Linked DNA regions of Homo sapiens: region 1 is linked to region 2. The links are contacts of gene promoters, found by promoter capture Hi-C in blood cells and fetal thymus (Javierre and others, 2016). All regions are on one chromosome and are shown on one strand. The core of a region is centred on a gene start or on the middle of the fragment in contact, and the rest is flanking DNA. Distances in the headings are between cores, read along the strand shown.

Evidence for each region. Contacts are between HindIII fragments. The CHiCAGO score rates a contact against its expected background, and 5 or more counts as called.
Region 1: a contact is called between a fragment that was not itself captured here and the fragment with the promoter of BRS3 in region 2, in 1 of 17 cell types (neutrophils). The highest score is 5.2, in neutrophils.

The regions. Positions count from the first base shown.
Region 1 is chrX:134,387,663-134,391,284 of GRCh38, reverse strand. The region is part of intron 3 of PHF6 (PHD finger protein 6); the gene reads right to left. Among named protein-coding and RNA genes, the nearest start is that of PHF6, 16 kb to the right of the region's middle. The HindIII fragment of the contact is 2,881 bases long and covers 870-3,622 here.
Region 2 is chrX:136,485,690-136,489,460 of GRCh38, reverse strand. BRS3 (bombesin receptor subtype 3) reads right to left here and starts at 1,514. Exons shown (of 3, transcript NM_001727.2): 1 at 913-1,514. The coding sequence starts at 1,346. The HindIII fragment of the contact is 2,387 bases long and covers 854-3,240 here.

The DNA.
Region 1 (3,622 bases), core at 1,061-3,560, 2.1 Mb after region 2:
AAAATATTTAGGTCCGGGTACAGCAGCTCACGCCTGTAATCCCAGCACTTTGGGAGGCTGAGACGGGCGCATCACCTGAGGTCAGGAGTTCAAGACCAGCCTGACCAACATGGAGAAACACCATCTCAACTAAAAATACAAAACTAGCCAGGTGTGGTGGCACATGCCTGTAATCCCAGCTACTCGGGAGGCTGAGGCAGGAGAATCACTTGAACCTGGGAGGTAAAGGTTGCGGTGAGCTGAGATTGTACCATTGCACTCCAGCCTGGGCAAAAAGAGTGAAACTCCATCACAAAAAAAAAAAAAAGAAAAAAAAAAGAAAAAAAGAAAAAGAAAAATGTTTAAATAAATTATAGTATACACATATGAGAGAATGTTCTACAGCCACTCTTTTCAAAGAAATTGGAATGGCTCAGGAAGATCTATGTGTAATGTTAAGTTAAAAAAAATGAGGCAGGATACAAAACTATGTGAATTATGAACCCAACTATGTTTATAACATAGATTCTTTAAAACAGGTGCAAGTAAAAACAGCAAAATGCTAAGTGGCTATCTCTGGGTGGCTGGTTTTCTTCATAATGCCCTGTATTTTGATTTTTCTACAATGGGCAAAAGTACTTTTATATGCAAAAATATTATTTAAAAAACAAATTAGGAAAACTCTAGTAAATGCTTTCAATACCCGTCTCTCAGTCTGGTGAGAATAAGATGGGAACCAAAAACCCAAAATATACCAAAATAGTTTTTGGCTGGTTATAAATTTAAATCTGCCCAAAGTAACTGGTTTTAAGCTGCTATGGTGAAATACATGCATTTTGCAAATAACCAGTTAACTACAGCAACTCAGGACAGATAATTTTTTTAAAGCTTACTTTATTTTTATAGTCAGTTTCACTCAAGAAAGACAAGAAAGAGGAAGACATACCAATAAAAAATATTTTCGGAGTGGAAACTTCTTTACAAGGTTAGGAGTTGGAATTTTGCTAAATTAGAATTCCCAGGACCTATTTTATGCAGCATTCACATACAAGCAGTCAAATTTCTGGCAAGGTACTAACAAAATAGCAAAAATTATCCATAATAAAGCCAAAATACAATGTTTACATTTGCTTGCTTACCTATGAATACAAAAAGGGAAAATTATCTTAGTCTACCATGCTATATTCCAACCTCTAAAATAATCCTTTTTCTCTAAACTCCTATGGGACTCAAGATATATACTGTTCATTTTGGCTCTTATCATTTTACTCCATTATATGGCTGATTATAAATACATAAATTTTATCAATCAATTCATTCTAGACAGAATTTTTTTTTGAAGAGTAACACTGTGCCTTACAAAGTACTGTTCAGTAAGTATGTCATTGCAAACATACTCTATTATTGAAGATCTTAATCTTATGGCATATTTTTTCTCATTCATGTTTCTAATACCTGCAGATTTAACATAATTATCTTCAGCTACTTCTAAAAATATTTAAACATTCTGATCTAGGACTGGGAATGGTGAAATTGGGGAGATCAATCCAGTTGGAGGAGCACAGAATGAACGTGGCAAGAATGTTTCAGGGAAAAGATTAGCCCCGCTAGAAACAAGGTTGAAAACTAAGATGAGATAAAAAGAAAAATTAAAGAAGCTGAGAAACCAGATAGGTGGCTAGTCCAGCTTAAAAAATGTTATAGGAAATAAAAATAAAACAAAGAGGCCTTCCCTAGAAAAAGGTGAAATAACTGGAAAATGGGGACCCCTCTACCACAAGGCACCTGGTTGGTTATACCCTAATAATGGCTCCAGTATCTCCCTTTACACAAAACATTTGCTCTCCAATTTACCACAGTCCCTACTGGGCCTTCAGCAGAATGACTGTCAGCTGCCATGTACCATCATGCTTGCACAGTATCCATGGCTCCCTCAAACGTGGGAAAATGAAAGTTAACCTGACAGAAACATGTTTTTCAAAAACAATGGAAGACCTCTCCCCAACTCCCCGCAAAAAAGGCCTGCCCCATGTATCAGATATTCTGTTGAGGGCTAATTTCCTGCCTCCAACATAGGCATACATGTTAATTCTCAGCTTATCCTGCTTGTATCCTGATTTCAAGTTCTTGATTTAGATAGAGGTGAAAACTTCTTCATTAATAATAATTTTTCTCTCACTCCCCTATTCAGTTTGCTACCTAGTCGACCTAGTAAACCTTAATAATTAATTAACAGCTTCAAATTAGGGATACTGGAAAAAGAGGTCCTGTCTTATTACAGATATTTGCATGGCGTCTCTATCGTATTGTTAGAAGCTACACTAACTTAAGGTTAAATTGTGCAACATAAGCAGAGTCTCAAGGAGCTGACCCACTGATGAAAGAGGAACTAAGTCATGCATGAGAGGAGACACAAGGAACTAAATGGACTGAGACTTAGCTAATGTCGGGTAGGAGCCAGAGGCTGGGGCATACCTGCTCCTCAGTCAACTTAACTAGGACAGGACTGAAATTCAGTTTGCAAAAAGAAGTCTTAAAGAGCAAAAGGAAAAATATTGCTTTCTCAGTAACTATAGGGGAGTAAAATGAAAATGAGATTGCCAACTTCTACGACAAGGCTCTTGGGGAAAAGCTGGAACCTAATGGTCAGATAGAGCCATAGGGAACTGATGGAGGAAAGGCTGTCTGCAACTTAGCTTTGTCCAGCTTCATTGTCCTATATCTAATATGTCTGTCAGTAACTGACTATCAGTGTATAGATACACATTCTCACAGCCAAGCAGTTAACTGTTCTAAAGAAACCTGCTCCCAGAAAACTGCTACAAATGCACAGACAAGGCAAAGAAGGGTACAAAAAGAGGTCACGTTCTTGAGCCTGTAGGCAAAGAAAAAAAAATGCCAAAAGCTCTTGGAGTAGGGAACGCTGTACTGAGGATATTTGCACAGGAGATACGAGCCAAAAACAAAGTGAAAGCAGCTTACTTTACGCAGGTGCTTGGCTTTTTGTTTTAATAACAGGTAATACTACCTCCAATAAAAACTAGAAAGTGACAGTACAGTTAGGGGCAAGTTTTCAGAGATGCCCCAAAAATGCTCCTTAACTCCAGCTTCATTGCTTTATTTATAGTAATACCTCACATATCCAAATAACTAGACAACAGAGTGGCTCTGAATTATCTGGTTAACTGCTGTTTTAGTTTTTATTTGTTAAATTTATGTGTTAAAAATTCCTTAAAAAGTGCCACTTCATGGGAGGGTGGAATACGAACTCATAACTGTTTCTGTTTGATCCTTTAGTTACTATTTTTTAAAAATACAGCATTTTGAAGGAGGTCTCATAAGAACACAAACTAAACACTACTTTTAAGGTTTAAATGGAAAGCCAGAAAACAGTGAAATCTGAAAGCTGTCAGTCACTGAAAAGTGACAAGTTGCTTGAAAAACAGATTAGGACCTTAAATTCCAGGTGCTTCTAAAAAATAGGGCCACTGAAAAGTACTCATTAAATTTTTACTAGATTTAACAGACTAAATCTAAGTAGTTACTGAATAGATTATTTCAGATGTCTTGGAAATTGGAGGGAAATGAACTAAGCCTTAACCTCATCTCCTGACCTTGCTCAGAATATCACATACTCCAACTC
Region 2 (3,771 bases), core at 265-2,764:
CCAGTCAAAGCAAAAATCATCAAAAGACACAGGGAAAGGTTTTCCTCCTCTCAGATTCTAGAATCTGAAGAAGTTATTCCTTCTGGTACTGCCAAACATCGATTACTTACAGGAATCTTGCAGGCTTTGTAAAGCATCATTTTTAACATTTGGAGCCTCAAATTTTTTCATGTTTTTACAGTTATTCTACAATAGGAACACAGAAAAACAGAGTACTTGGACTGAAAATATCCTAACACAGAATCTGAACACCCTGACTGCAAGAGGATCTCACACGCTCTCTCCACAGAGCTCTAAAAGTCAACCAAGATTAATTTATTTCTCTGGAAATGATAATGTCACTGAATGCCTACAGAGAAAACAAGTAGAATTACGTGATGACATTACACTAAGTTACCAGGGAGTTGAAAACCTCACCGTTTTTCTGCCATTAGCTAATTTGATGAATTTCAAATAAATTAGATGCCTGTGTCTTTTTACCACTCTTCCAATATACAGTTATACATATGTGGTCAATTTCACACCTATCCTGGTTTTCATGTTGACTATATTGCACCACTAGGCTGCACTAATGTATAAAGCATGAATTTTTTTCCTTTACACCTGGAACAATTTGCTTTACTTAATAAACTGGAGAAAAATAAAAACCCCGTTCAGTATACTTCCGAGCAAACAATAAGAATAAATTATCCATAAAGCATGCAATTTCAACTTCTCCTCCGTGCTAACACAGAAATTTTAACATTCTTACACTAACTTTTATTTTAAATGCCACCAGATTTTCCAATCTCACATCCACGTTACAGAGTGTGAGAAAAGCAGAATAGTAGCCAGTAAATGCTAAGTACAAGCTTTCCTTTCTTTTTGCCCAATTTCACATCCTGGCAAATATAATGGAGAAAAGAAACTCACCTGTCAGCGCTGAGAATTGTTAATGTGAACACTGACACACCAACAGAAGTGAGCCGGATGAAAGAGAGCACCTTACAACCAATTCTTCCGAACAGCCATCCTTCTGCAAGGTAGTGAGTTGCATCCACTGGCACACAAGTTAGCAGAAGTAAAAGATCTCCAAAAGCCAGGCTGGTGATGAAAATATTTGGAACTGTTTGCATGGATTTGGTCTTGAAAAAGACTTTGATGAGAATAGCATTTCCAAGGATGCCCACTGAAATGATCACAGCATAAGTAATATAGATGGCACACAATGCTTCTATTCCTGGAGAGTTGTCCCCGCTCCATCCTTTATTTGTGTTATCGTTAGAAACCACAGAGCTTGATGATTCTGTGTCATTTGTGATTGAAATTAAAGTCTGATTAGGTGAGTGAGGCTGCCTTTGAGCCATTTCTTCTGAAGACTGTGTCTTTAATATTTCTTCTTCTCAGTTCAAATGCAGTTGATTGTCACGTCCAATGCCTACGTCTAGTAACGAGATGGTATTAGGAGAACAGAACAGAACAGAATGGGAAGAAAATCCAAGACATCCAGATACTCCTTTGCTTCAGTTCTGTGTGTCTCCCAGCATGCTTGGCTAAATGCTTACCCATCTGGCACTGAAGAGTAGGAGGTGGAGTTTTATTGGCGTGTCCTGTCATAAGGAGAGGGAGGGGGCTGGGGAAATGCTCTGCAGTTGCTTATTCTTCCCTGTTGGGGAATCTTGGGACCAACTAGACCCTATTAAATCGTCTTATTTATTATTAGAATCACCCTGTTTTCATATCTACCCAGGATGGTCTATATAGGTTTTGTCAATTTTTTTTAAGAAAAAAACCATTTATCCCCCTGCAATCACATGGTAGTCTAGTGCATTTTGTTTTACATGATAAATAAGTGTAGGTGTCCCCTGAAGCACAACCTTGAACCCACTCCTCAAAATTTAATATCAGAGAGATGGTGAAGCAACAGATCATTTACACTTCGACAGGGTTTATGTCACCTCCAAGGAGTGATCATTCAGGTCACTTGGGCTTAATACCTAGCTCTGTCACGTGGTAAACCCCAACTTTGCAGTTATCCAGGCTGTGCTGTACACTATCAAAACAACCTTTTTAATTTTTTTTTTTTTTTTGAGATGGAGTCTCACTCTGTCACCCAGGCTGGAGTGCAGTGGCTCGATCTTGGCTCACTGCAACCTCCACCTCCTGGGTTCAAGCAATTCTCCTGCCTCAGTCTCCCGAGTAGCTGGGATTACAGGCGCCCGCCACCATGCCTGGCTAATTTTTGTATTTTTAGTAGAGACAGGGTTTCACCATGTTGGCCAGGCTGGTCTTGAACTCCTGACCTCAGGCAATCCGCCTGCCTCAGCCTCCCAAAGTGCTGGGATTACAGGCATGAGCCACCACACCCAGCCAAAACAACCTTTTAAGAGATGAAAAATCCAGGCACAGCACCAGTTGCTTTGTCTCTAAATGTCCTAATAAAACCACTTTTTACTGTTTGACTGTCTGTTTTAATGCCATGTTTTCTTTTAAGGGGCTGTTTAGGATTTTTCTCTCTAGAAATGGTTAAAGGGAACCTAACCTGCCTTATTCCAAAACAAAACAATACAGAACATCACTGCTCAAGCTCCTGACACAAAAGAACTTTTAAGAATGAAAATCATCATTTGCAGATGAAGAAATGAAATAGGTGACTCCAGGGATGATGGGCATGTAGATGATGTTTACATCAACTGAAAGAAGTACACATTTAAGGCAACCACCTCAGTACCAGCCAGAGAAGCTACTTTTTACAGAAAACATAACCATGTGCTTTATATGTATGTGTTTGTGGTGGGGGCACTGTTTGGGAGCAGGAAGCTAGCAGTTGGAGTGTAGTTACTAATTGAAGCTGCTAAGAAATATTCTCTGAAATTATCAAATGCAATGCATAATCTCTCAGCTAGAAACCATGTAGTGAGGTGTTCATAAATATAACCATATTAGAAAGTAGTCTGGGGAGCGAAGTGAAAAAGAGCAAAGTATTTGGCTAGCTAATGAACAGGGGGAACAACAAAGGTTGTTCTTTATACTTAGTAGGGGCAATCAGTTCTTCAGAGAAAGTGAAGTGGATGAATTGAATCAATTACCTCCTTAATTTCATGAAGGGTGGAAGACAGATGTGGTTTAAGTCCCCCAAACCACACCTATCCCCCACCCTTTATAAGTTATTGCCACAGCTTGAATCACTCAGCTAAATAACTGCCTTTGATGGGAATGGGGGTGCGGGGGAGTGTTTGCATAAACCCAAGTTCCTAAGCTTTCAGATATATACACTCTAGTAATTTCATACACTGGGCTGGTTCTTTAAGATTGTCTCTACAGAAAAGGGCTCCTTAAAGGGTTCACATCTTGTTCTCAGCAAACTAATGATAAAATCTCCCTGGGACTCCTGTGTATCATTTACCAAGGAGCAAACCATGTCTTCCAATTCACACCACAGCCGATCTCCACATGGCACTGTTTTGTAAGTTCTGTAATGCTTGCATGTGATTTCTGAGATTATCTGAATTCCCAGATCTCACTCATGCTTTCAGCAGGCTGCAGCCACTGGAATACTTTTTCTTCTCCCTCTTCCTTCTGATCAAGAGCGGTCAAGAGAGAGTAGTTGTATTGGAGTAGTACTGGAGCAGTGGGGGTCTTAGATCTCTAGAATTCCAGAATCCCAGAATATCAGAGATGGAAGTGACCCTAGACATGATCAAATCAAATGCTCTCATTTTGCAGAGGCAGAAATGAGGTCCAGAGTAGGGAAAGTATCTCACCCAAGGTCTCACAAGTTCTCAACAGAAC